Linked DNA regions of Homo sapiens: region 2 is linked to region 1. Evidence: promoter capture Hi-C in 16 types of primary human blood cells and fetal thymus (Javierre and others, 2016). All regions are on one chromosome and are shown on one strand. Each heading gives the region's core, a stretch centred on a gene start or on the middle of the fragment in contact. The rest is flanking DNA. Distances are from core to core; before and after follow the strand shown. Region 1 holds the start of SLC25A40 (solute carrier family 25 member 40). Region 2 overlaps CLDN12 (claudin 12).

Region 1 (6,132 bases), core at 169-2,668:
AACTACATTCTATATTAGTGCTTCCCAACTTTTTAAATCTTTCTGTAAATATAAACATTTTGTGCTCTCTGTAGCTTATATTTTGAAAATAAGTTTTTTCCCATAGAAATTACAATATTGAATATGTTTGTTCAAACTACACTTCCTTCCACCACTCAAGATCTGTTAACCTCTAATGAATTGCCCCATGATTGACATCAATAGACCTTGATGCAGAAATATTTTATTGGAGAGATATCAAATCAATCTCTATTTCCTCTTCCCATGTCCACTTCTGCTAGACATTTCTCTCGAGTCATAAACATCTTTAACTGTCTAATAAGCATAGTTCCATGACTGTCGCCCCAGGCCCTTCAACATAAACCTGTCTAAAACCAAACTCTCATTTCCCTTAGCAAACCTGTTCTCTGCGTTCTCCAGCTAATCTTGTCACAACCCACCCTTGTCTATTCTTTAAGGTACCTACCTGCAAAACCGTAACGCTGATACTCTGACTTCCTTGAGCTACCAGGTAAAAAAATCAACCACTACAGGAGTGCCTATTATGGCCTGGAGTAGAGGAATGCAAAATAGTTCAAAATATCCTCTTCCTCCTGAAGAAACAGATTTTTTTTTTTTTTTGGAGAGGCATGTTCCAACTTATAAAATTAAAATATATTCACAAGCATTTTAATTTGATCTTTAATCTCTGTTTTACAGGAAAAAAAAATGAGATGTTACTTTCCACTCCTTCATTGTTGAAATAAACTTACACTCAACTAAAAGAAAACAGGTCTGAATACAATAAAAGTCAACAGGACAGCGCAAATAGCCAACTACCCAAGGACACAAAGTGACCTGGAGGCGTTCTGCGGTGGCGCTGCCGTCAAGGCCGGGGCCGCCTGGCCAGACCCTCCCTCAGACGCCCCCCGGGGCCGCCCTCACTCCCGCACGTCCCTCTGCAGCTGTCCTCAGCCGGTGGGGTCGGCAGTGACCGCGGGAAAACCCCGCTTGCTGTGCGACCCAGGGCGCGCTGAGCAGGGGCTGCGGCTGCCGCCGCTGTCCGGCTCCGGTTCCGGCCCCGGCCCCGGGCCCGGCCAGAGCTGAGTCCGGACTCAGCCAAAGCCCCTCGCCTTCAGCTTCCCAGACGTCCGACCAGTGGAAAATTAGCATACCTGGGGCAGAAGGCAGCTGCAGGGCCGGCAGTCCTGGCAAACCTAGAAGGCGGGAATAACCCTGGTGACGGGCGGGGCCGGGCTCCGGCGCTAACTGCATCCACTAGGTTTGGTCAACACAGAGCCGCGCCAACTCTCTGAGGCTGCGCCAAGACCTGAAGCGGCGGACCGAGAGCCCGGGTCTGAGACTGAGAGAGCAACGGAATGGAGGCGGGGTAGAGGCGGAAACACAACCTGCAGGGCCAGAGCGAGGCGCGAGAAGGACGGCGGCGTGAGGGGGCGGGGCGCGCAGCGCGAGAAGGCAGGCACGAGGGGCGAGCGCGAGGCGGGGCACGGCGCGTGGCGTGAGACGGGGCGGGGCGCGCGTATCGGCGCCGCGGCCGCGTGACGCGTTTTCAAATCTTCAACCGCCGCAGCCCACTCGTTTGTGCTTTGCGCCTTCCTCCTCCGCGCCTTGGAGCCGGATCCGGCCCCGGAAACCCGACCTGCAGACGCGGTACCTCTACTGCGTAGAGGCCGTAGCTGGCGGAAGGAGAGAGGCGGCCGTCCTGTCAACAGGCCGGGGGAAGCCGTGCTTTCGCGGCTGCCCGGTGCGACACTTTCTCCGGACCCAGCATGTAGGTGCCGGGCGACTGCCATGAACTCCGGAGCCATGAGGATCCACAGTAAAGGACATTTCCAGGGTAAGAAGCCCCTCCTCCGCCTGCAGTCCCTTTAATCCTTTCCTCCCCTCGTGGTTCCACCATTGATTCTTCAGACTTCTCCCGCCGGGTCCTCAGCTTCTTTTCTTCTGACCGGCCTCTGGGGTCTGAAGGAAGGAGCCCCCGTTCAGTGTTTTGCCTAAGAAGGAACGGATCCTGACCCGGCCCCTCGAGCGCTCTGCCGTTTACAGCGGCGGTCCCAGATTGATTCCCGGTCGTGCCTTCGGTTGAAAACTAGCAAACAATGTGCAGATCCGGGACCTCGCCGGGACTGCGGCGCTGTCTGCTCCCGGGCTCTCGCATATGCTAAGCCTCCGCCCGGGCCCTTGGAGGCGACGGACTGCATCCTCAATTTAAAGTCAGACGCGCTCGTGGCTTTTCGCTTCAGGATTAGATTGAGTGATTGTGGGTGGATTTTTGGTCTTACCCTTGAAAGTTTATTTTCCTTTCCTCATAAGTTGGGGGAAAGCATTGTATTTCAAACACCCCATTGCTGGTTTCAACATTACAAACAGGGAAACAAAAGCAAATTTCCATTTTCAGTCACTTTATTTGGTGAAACATTCCAGCACCTAAGTTTTTTGTACAGGTGTTTGTGTGTGTGTAGTAACTACCAATTTAAGAACAGATTGCGTTTGAAAAATTAATTTTTAAAGCAGTTGCTTGGATCTCAGATCTGTTTCTAATGAAAATAATGAAAGGTTTAGTTCTTCGTAATGGACCGTTAAGTTCTTAATACGTAGACAAATTGTATGTGAAATGGACCGTTTAGTTGTTAATATGCAGACAAACTTTATATGAAACTAAAACTTGAGCAGTCTGAAACCCTTGAGGACTAGGTTATTCTGCGTAACAGAGGATTCTTTCATCGCTAAATGAAGTTTAAACACCAGTTTTGAATGTTCAGCAGAATGGCAGATGCTCAATAAATAGTTGAGTATTAAATATCCCCATGGAGTTTACATCCTAAAAAAAGAAAATCTTTCAAAAGAGTTTTATATAGTTCCGTGCCTCAGGAATAAACACACGAATATTTCTTGCTGAGTCAACTATTATTTTACAATATGCGGTCTGTGAAAGTATATAGGGCATTTTGCCTCTATCCTAAGTAGTACTACAAAGAAATACATTTCAATGCTAATAACTTAAACTGGTAGGGTTGTAAGGATTTTTATTCTGTAATATTGTATAATGAAATATTTTAAAAATAGTAAAAGTGTCTGTGTAAAACATCTGATTCTAAACATCTTTAATAGGTGGAATCCAAGTCAAAAATGAAAAAAACAGACCATCTCTGAAATCTCTGAAAACTGATAACAGGCCAGAAAAATCCAAATGTAAGCCACTTTGGGGAAAAGTATTTTACCTTGACTTACCTTCTGTCACCATATCTGAAAAACTTCAAAAGGACATTAAGGATCTGGGAGGGGTAAGTGAAAACCGTACACTGGCATAGAAGGAAAAATTTGTAACTAGTACTTTCTACTGTGTAATCATTTAAATTTTTCATTTTGGAAAACGCTTCTATTAGCACCAAGCTTAACATTTTTATCAGCTGTTTATCGTTAACAAAAAACCATTTGTTTTAACCTTTTGTGGACTGACAGACCTTTCAGGTTTCTCTGATTAGCAGTCTAGTGTAAAGTTCTTAGAGTGTAAGACTCCCCTGTCCTAGTGGAACTGCTCATTGACTGCTTACTGTAATGTTGGAATGTCCTCCAGATAACAGCAATTTCTTGATTATGAATCTTGGGGAGCTACATAAGTTTGTCTGGACTAGTGTAACAGTTAAGAATGTTACTACAGAACAGCCATGCAAACCACAGTTAAAATTGTTCCTGAGTGATACAGATGTTGTTTCAACAGAATGAATGTTATTAAAGGAAAAGAAATTTGCATTAAGAATCTGGAATACCTTCTTTCCTACCTTATACACTGATTAGATGATTGGGAAATTAGAAAACTCAGGCAAAATTCTAGGACCTTAATAGGATTAAGGTTGATATTGGCTGAATTTTGGCAAATGAGGTAATTAAGATTTTTTTCTGTTTAAAAGGTTCATGCTGGACTTTGACTTTCTGAAGGTCTGCGTCTTTGAATGTCTAAACTGATCCTTTCATTCCCAGACTAGTAACTTTTCAATTTATTTTTATTTTTATTTTGAGACGGAGTCTCATTCTATATGGCCTAGGTTGGAGTGCAGTGGTGCGATCTCAGCTCACTGCAACCTCCTCCTCTCAGGTTCAAGTGATTCTTGTGCCTCAGCCTCTGTCTCCTGAGTAGCTACGATTACAGGCATGTGCCACCACTCCTGGGTAATTTTTGTATTTTTAGTAGAGTCAGGGTTTCACCGTGTTGCCCAGGCTGGTCTCAAACTTCTAACCTCAGGTGATTTGCCCACCTCAGCCTTCTAAAGCGCTGGGATTGCAAGCATGAGCCCTCCAGGCCCAGCCGATTCCCAGACTAGAAACTTATCAGAAGAACATGTGCTAACAGGTTTCCTGGAACTGTTAATATATTTTATTTACTTATCTCTGAAAAGTTATTCTACTTTTTTACTATTCATTTTGTTAAACTAAAACACTGTCACATGCTTGTAATAGTTGTATTTATGGTAATGATCATATGACAGCATTCTTAAAGGTCATGTTTTCTAGGCCTGCCACCCTATTGACTATACACCTATTAAGAGTATCTTAATGTGTTAAGGACCTTAGACATTGAGTAAAAAATACCCCTTCATCTTAGAAACAAAGTACTTGAGGTCCAGAGAAAGTAAATGGCCCAATTAGAGCAGTATTAGCTTCTTAATTCCCACAGCAACATAGTACCTGCACCATTCTGTTCCTCTAGCAATCAATGGCTACAAATGGCTATCTGGCTGGTAATTCACACCTGTAATCCTAGCACTTTTGGAGGCCAAGGCAGGTAGATGACTTGAGGCCAGGAGTTCAAGACCAGCCTGGGCAACATGGCAAAACTCCATGTCTACTGAAAAATACAAAAATTAGCCAAGCATGGTGGTGCATGCCTGTAGTCCCAGCTATTCGGGAGGCCGAGGCATGAGCATCACTTGAACCTGGGAGGCGGAGGTTGCAGTGAGCCAAGATTGTGCCACTGTACCCCAGTATGAGTGACAGTGAGACCCTATGTCCAAAAAAAAAAAAAAAAGGTAGCTCAAAGTAGCTATCTGATACAGTTTGATGACAATTTTCTCAAATATGATGAACAACCCATTAACTCTAGGTCTAATGGTCTAAATCAGTGATACTTAGATTTGTGTTTTTATCAGTAGAACCCTTTAAACAAAATAATATTCAGAAGTCCAATGTGTAAAGCCTGTAAAAAGGGAACCCCTTGGGCTAAAACAGCAGTACAGAGGCTAAAGCAAGAACTACTTGCCCCGTCACCTTCTTTCTTCTATCTCCACAGCAGTTCCTGAGGTAATTGCAAGAAACAAATTTTGAATTACTTCTGCCATACATAATAGTTGAGGGACCTTTTGGTTTTACATACTTAGTCTTTACCCCTGAAATGATTGAAGTAGACCAGTGAAGTTAGGAGCATATTAAGGGTGTAAGTTCCCAAATTTTCCTTTGGATTTCCCAAAAATCCAAAGCTGTGGATTTTCAATGGAATTTGATTTATTAACTTTCTCCTAAAAAATGTCTTATTTATTGAATTCTGATCTTCCCATACTATCTTTTCTATAATTAATGATATTTAATCCTCAGGTCCTGGTTTCTGTCTTCAGCACATTTACTGTTTCTATCACTAAAAAAGATTTTGTCATAACGATCTTCTACATGAGTTAATTTATCTTCACATCATTACTTTAGGTGCCTTTTTAATTCACCATTTCACGTACTTTGGTTTCTATAATCTCGGTGAAAACATCTTAATATCCCATTTATCTGCAGAGTATGCTTCTGACAAATTTAACCACTGAGAGCACAGCACCCAGATTCTGATATAAAGGGGAAATACCTTTAATAGTGCAAGAAAAGTAGGTGTTACAGAACCATCTAAGGAGGACATGGGATCAGCCACAGTTAGGTCCATGTCTAAATAGTTTTGGCTAAAATAAGGCAATTGGAGAGGAACAGAAATGTAGGCCGATACCTTGGCGTATTAGCTTGAACTGTAAAATGTTTGATGTTCGTCATGATCACCTTGAGTCATCAGAAAATACGTTTTGAGTTTACTCTTTAAATGGCATAGATTCAACAATATCTAATACATTGAAGACCCTGGTAAAATTGATTCAACAAATGTTT
Region 2 (6,465 bases), core at 89-2,588, 2.5 Mb after region 1:
GTATTTTTCCTATTTCTTTAGGCTCAGATTATTGCTACTCTGTATTCAGATCTTCATGTGTCTCTTCTAAGCTGAATAAAGCTGTTTTGGAACTGTCAGGTACCTCAAAGCGTAAGTACGTCCTTTAATTATATCTTATTTCCCTCCCTCCTGCTACCACATCTGCCAACAATGACTCTTTTTTTTTCTCTTGTTCAACAAAATAGAGGTATAGGACAGACCTCTCTTGTGAGTACAATGACTGATGACTTACAGTTTCTAAGAAAACCCAAATTATAGGTAGAAGGAACTCTCAATGTTACCATCAAGAATTAAGTTAGGGCTGGGCATGGTGGCTCAGCCCTGTAACCCTAGCGCTTTGAGAGGCTGAGGTGGAAGGATCCCTTGAGCCCAGGAGTTTGAGACCATCCTGGGCAACATAGCGAGATCCTGACTGTATGAGAAAATTTTAAAAAATTAGCCAGTTGTGGTGGTACATGCCTATAGTCCCAGCTACTCTGGAAGCTGAGGTGGGAGGATTGCTTGAGCCTCGGAGGTCGAGGCTGCAGTGAGCCATGATTGCACCACTGTGCTCCAGCCTGGGTGAGAAAGCGAGACCCTGTCTCAAAAAAATAGAAGCTAGCTGCTATTAGACATATGTACTCTCGTAACTCTTGTAACTATAACTCAGAATTGTGCCTGGAAAAAATAGTACAGGGTCTATTGGATACATGACTTCCTAAAGCTCTTAGCCACTGTTCCTGCTCCAGCCTTCTTTAAATTCTATTCAAAACCACAGAAAATATATAATTTGAAAATATTTTTATTCGTAATTATGTCTCTGATAACATTTAATTGTGTATCAAATTTTATCTACTTTTCTGAGTCACGGTGGAACAGAGAGTCAAATGACAAATGTGAAGTGGTTATTTGAAATAGAGTCTCTATTTGATTTGGTCAGTATCTCCAAAGAGAATGTTCTGTCCTTCTTGTTATATGACTATAACCATCTGTAGTCATTTGCTGAGGGTCCAGAAGAAAAGTATGTTTCTAGCTGAAAAAAGTAAATAAGCCTGCTAATAATCATTACTGACTTACATTTCTGACCATATTCTGGTTTACAAAGGACTTTGCTATTCATGATTTTACTACTTTGTGGGACACTTTACAGATGAAAAATTGGAGGTTCAGAGGACATAAGTGACTTGTCCAGTTTGTAAATGATAGGTTATGAATGTTATTCAGGTCTTTGGTCTCCTGGACAACAATACCAAGCAGCCTCCTGGATGGAAACAACAAACCACTTATGTGTATGTATGACCTAGCTCAAAGCTCTCATCCAGCTAGTACTCATGACTGCTTGACAGATTTGTTAAAGTGTTCTTAGCCTTGCACGTTTTCCACAGTCCCTAATTAGGGATTTTCACATGGCAAAAAGATGTTTTTTTTTCTCCATTAAAAAAACTATATATTGTTTAGCTTTAATAAATATTAATTTGATATATTAACCACTCTTAAGAGAAGTATGTCTAATTCATGACATACCTGTTAAGTTGAAAACAGAAAAATCAATACCGGAACAGTGGACTTTTTGTTTTTGAAATGGAGTCTCGGGGTTTCACCATATTGGCCAGGCTAGTCTCAAACTCCTGACCTCGTGATCCACCCACCTCGGCCTCCCAAAGTGCTGGGATTACAGGCATGAGCCACCACGCCGCGCCAGGAATAATTGACTTTCAAACCATTTGTTGAAGTTAGACAGTGTTGCTAAACCTAGATATATATTTCTAGAATCATAGTCTGCATGTAGGTACCTAAGGATGGCCTTGTCTTTGCTAATCACAGGTTTCTGGGGTAAGAAAATGAATGTTGTTTTGTAAAATGGGAGTCTTTTGGCCAAAAAGGAGAAAGCAGGGGCACAGTCTAGAAACAGTCTGGATGTATCAGAACACAGGGTGGTGTGAATTCTCTCAAATGAAGTGAATGGAACTGAGACTAAATTTCTGTCTGTATTCTGACCAGAGTTATACAGAACCTCCATTTGTTTGTTCATTCATTCAGCAAATAATCGAGTGCCTTTTATGTGCCAGTATAGGGAACAGTGAACAAAACAAAGGGATCTCTGTCCCTGGAATTCACAGTCTGATGGGAAAGAAAACTACACTGAACAAGGAGTTATAAGAATGATCACTGCTACAGAAGAAAAAGTGCAAAAGTGCTACCACAGCATATAACCAGGGACAGGGGGAGGTTTAGGACAAGCCTCCCTGGACACTAGAAGAATGAGTAAATATTAGCCAAGCAAAGAATAGGTTGGAATTAAGAAAGTTCTAGGAGAAAGACCATGAGGGAAGGCCCTTAACCAAATCAGAAAGTGGAAAATTTGGGAAGTCAAAAGAAATGTGGTTTGGCTGCATAGACTGTAGTGTGTGGGGTGGGAGAGTGGCACATACGAAGGTTGAGAATTTGGTAGGAATCAGGTGGTGTAAGCTATGGGGAGGAGTTGAAACTTTAGAGATTTTATTCTGTGGGAAATGGGAACTTATTGAATGGTAAGAAATGGAATGGCGGATGAGGTTTGCATTTGAAAAAAATTATTGTGGATTAAAACTAATTGACACAGCACAAGAGTAGAGGTCTTTTTACCCTTGCAAGTATGAACAAATCCTAATCGGGAAGTCAGCATTATCTTTGTTTTAAAACATCAAACATATTCTTTCCCCAAACTATCCTATAAAATTTTACTTCAGGCATGGTGGCTTACTTTTGTAATCCCAGCCCTTTGAAAGGTGGAGGTGGGGGGATTGCTTGAGCCCAAGAGTTCAAGACCAGCCTGGGCAACACAGCAAGACCCCATCTCTAGGGAAAACTTAAAAATTAGTCTGGCATGGTGGCATGCACCTGTTATCCCAGCTACTCAGGAGGCTGAGGCAGGAGGATTACTTGAGCCCAGGATCTCAGCTCACTGAAATCTAGTGAGCTGTGATCATGCCCTGCACTCCAGCTTGGGTGATAGAGTAAGACCCTGTCTTAAAAGAAATTACTTTATCTCTCTGGTGGGATATATGACTTATCAAATCATAGGCATTTGAAATTAAGAACAGGGCATACAAGGTGAAGTAGCCAAAAGAAGCTAGACATTAATTCCAGTATCAGGCCAAAATTTAGCTTAAGAATTAAGGTTAATAGTACTTCCCTTCTGAAAAAGTGCCGTGGTATCCTTGTTGACTCTGTATAGATAGGCCTCTGTCCATCCCTGAGATCTGAGCTAAGAATGCTTCATCAAAGGCAATTTCAGAGAACCAATATAATATTTGTATTGATTTGATGCAGAATATAGTTAAAAGCACTTACTACTGAAATATATATTGTCGTACCTCTCTTCATTAATGTCATTTGATAGTCTATAGGCTAAGAATTATAGGAATTTATTTATTTTTCTTAATAATTAATTTTTCTTTTTTTTGTAGAGATGGGGTCTCGCTATGTTGCCCAATCTGGTCTCAAACTCCTGGGCTCAAGCTATCCTCCCACCGCAGCCTCCCCAAGTGCTGGAATTACAGGCATGAGCCACAGCACCTGGCCTGGAATTTATTAATAATGGAGTTATACATCCTGATCTTGTTTCTCACTCCATTTACATTTCAGGAATCAGTGTTACAGGGCAGTTTGATTGGAGAAATCTCAATTACATTGAAATTCCAATTATTTCTATACTACTTTTGTTTTTTGTTCCTGTTTGTTTGTTTGTTTGTTTGTTTTGAGACAGAGTCTCGTGCTCTGTCACCCAGACTGGAGTGCAGTGGTGTGATCTGGCTCACTGCAACCTCCACCTCCTGGGTTCAAGCGATTCTCCTGCCTCAGCCTCTTGAGTAGCAGGGATTACAGGCACGTGCCACCATGCCTGGCTAGTTTTTGTATTTTTAGTAGAGATGGGGTTTCACCATGTTGACCAGGCTGGTCTGAAACTCCTGACCTCAAGTGATCTACCAGCCTTGGCCTCCCAAAGTGCTGGGATTTCAGGCATGAGCCAATTCGCCCAGCCAGTATATTACTTCTGAAAGCAAGAAGGAATTGTGATTGCATTAGGACTTTGAGTGGGTTATCTGAAGACTTCTGAAGCTTGAAAGAAACGAGGGAACCTTTTTCCTATGTCTTCACAACTTTAATCAAATCCTTATTCTCCTTCATTTCTCAGTCTTTAACTCCTGCCTGATAAATTTTTATGAACAGGTACCTTATTCACTTTGCTTAACACCTAACAATAATCACTTGATACGTAGTAATTATACAGTTGATTCACCACCAACACTTTGAGTTTACATAAGACAGCCGTTTCTTTCCACAAGTCTCTATAAACACATTGGGAGCAAGGTCCAGTTATCAGTGGTCTTGGTGTCTTTCCAGGGCCTAACAGAGTGTTTTGCATATGCTAGACACTCAGCATGATGTAAGTACTTGCTGAATGAATGATTGCTTCTTAGTAATAGCTACTTCCTTGTACAGTTCTTCATTACCAGTGGCCCACCTTTGTGAGTTACTGGGGTCTTTGTACAGAGCCCAATACTCGTTTATTCAAATAATCCTAGAATCACTTGTGTGCCAGGCACACAAGTTGTATGGGGGAGATAGACAGATGAATAAGCAAAGACCACCAGAGAGCTGTATCCTAGAGCTTGGCATTTCTAGTAGCTTTTTCCAGTGCAAACATTCTCAAATCTGTACTAGTTTCCATTGCTGTACTGAGGTGTTTGGTTGCCACAATTAAGCAAGACAGCTTTTTCCCAATTTGCTTGAAAAAAATACTGTAATTAGTCTCTCCCTTTCATAAAATTTTCTTAAGAAATTGCTACTTCTGATAATACTGACAGAAGGTAACATAATAAATACTAAACTAATACTAATGGAAAAACTTAGAACTAACCATGTTTAACTTGAGGGCTTTAAAAATGGTTACTTGTGCTTAAACTCTGATTTTTATATTGTACATTTATATATGCTATTTGTGTATATTTGAATATATGTATGTACACATAGGCATTTTTTTGGTTAGTAAAATTATTCTGGCTGGGCGCAGTTGCTCATGACTATAATCCCAGCTTGTAATTTCAGCACTTTTGGAGGCCAAGGCAGCAAGATTGCTTGAGGCCAGGAGTTCGAGACCAGCCTGGCCAACATGGTGAAACCATGTCTCTAAAAGAAAGAAAAGAAGAAAGGGAATAAGAATTGTGGGGGTGGAAGGAGGAGGGCTGGTTCACACCTGTAATCTCAGTACTTTGGGAGGCTGACGCTGGTGGATTGCTTGAGCCCAGGAGTTCGAGACCAGCCTAGGCAACATGAGAAAACCCCGTCTCTACAAAAAATACAAAAATTAGCTGAACATAGTGACGTGTGCTTATGGTCCCAGCTACTCAGGAGGCTGAGGTGGGAGGATCGCTTGAGCCTGGAAGGTCAAGGCTGCAGTGAGCCATGATTGTGTCATTGCACTCTAGCCTGGGCAACAGAGTAAGACTTGTTTCAAAAAAAAAAGAAAGAAAAAGAAAAAATTATTCCTATATTATATGACTAGATTAAATATACAAATAACATTGTTTTCTAAAGAACATTGTGCCCTCCCACTGGAATTCATGCAACAATCACATTCTAAGCCAGCTTCCTAGCATTTTGGTCATAATTGTCTTTCTGATCCTGAAAGCTTGGAAACACAACTTCACCATCCCAGCAGATGTTTGATTCTGCAAAGGTTGATGGAACTGTATTCAGAAATAAAAATTATTCTCAACCTTGCCCCTTCATCATGCTCTGAACAAAAAAGTAAACCTTACTGAAGTAGTCTGCTCTATTGCCTCATAGTAGGCATTATAGAAGGCAGAGAAAATACATTTGAGTCCTGCTTTGAGAGTGAATATCAGACCCTTGAGGAAATTAAAGCTGAATAAGATGCAAGCTTTTTATAGTTTGCCATATACAGAAAAAGAACATGGCCTTTTAATTTGGAATGAAAGGCCTGGCGACTGTTTTTCTTATAATAGCATTAATAGAAATAGGTTGTCGTTACTTGAAAAATGTTTGCATTCGTCTTATATGAACAGTAGTAGTAATAACCAACAAGTGCTGTAGATTTCCCTGAAAATCTACATCTTGAATCAACAAGGAAGTAATTGGGTCATGTTGAATCAACAAGGAAGTAATTAAGCAGAATAATTTCAGGGACCATTGTTCTCATCTTTTCATTTGACTGACTCATTGGAGATGAGCTCATTTACTTTTTATAATTTCCTAGTGTGCCTAGTACATAGGAATGAGATCAGTTTGTTTTTTCTTATTTAACATTCATTCAATGAATGTTCTTTGAACTCCTGTGATGTGCCAAGCAGTGAGCTGGGTCACTGAATGCTAAGAAGTAGTTAACACTTGGCATAGCATTTGTTGTGTTCTAGACATGTTTTAAGCACTTGACATTATATTATCTCATTGAACCCATAG

What was found. Contacts are between HindIII fragments. The CHiCAGO score rates a contact against its expected background, and 5 or more counts as called.
Region 2: a contact is called between a fragment that was not itself captured here and the fragment with the promoter of SLC25A40 in region 1, in 1 of 17 cell types (M2 macrophages). The highest score is 5.6, in M2 macrophages.

Annotation. Positions count from the first base shown.
Region 1 is chr7:87,874,942-87,881,073 of GRCh38, forward strand. It overlaps SLC25A40 (solute carrier family 25 member 40), which reads right to left and starts at 1,419. Exons shown (of 12, transcript NM_018843.4): 1 at 1,155-1,419. DBF4 (DBF4-CDC7 kinase regulatory subunit) reads left to right here and starts at 1,552. Exons shown (of 12, transcript NM_006716.4): 1 at 1,552-1,837; 2 at 3,112-3,284. The coding sequence starts at 1,792. RefSeq lists silencers at 812-1,261, 1,392-1,651 and enhancers at 1,015-1,524, 1,712-1,831. The HindIII fragment of the contact is 3,397 bases long and covers 1-3,391 here.
Region 2 is chr7:90,405,498-90,411,962 of GRCh38, forward strand. CLDN12 (claudin 12) reads left to right here. Exons shown (of 4, transcript NM_001185072.3): 2 at 22-111. Among named protein-coding and RNA genes, the nearest start is that of CLDN12, 5.3 kb to the left of the region's middle. The HindIII fragment of the contact is 5,522 bases long and covers 1-4,099 here.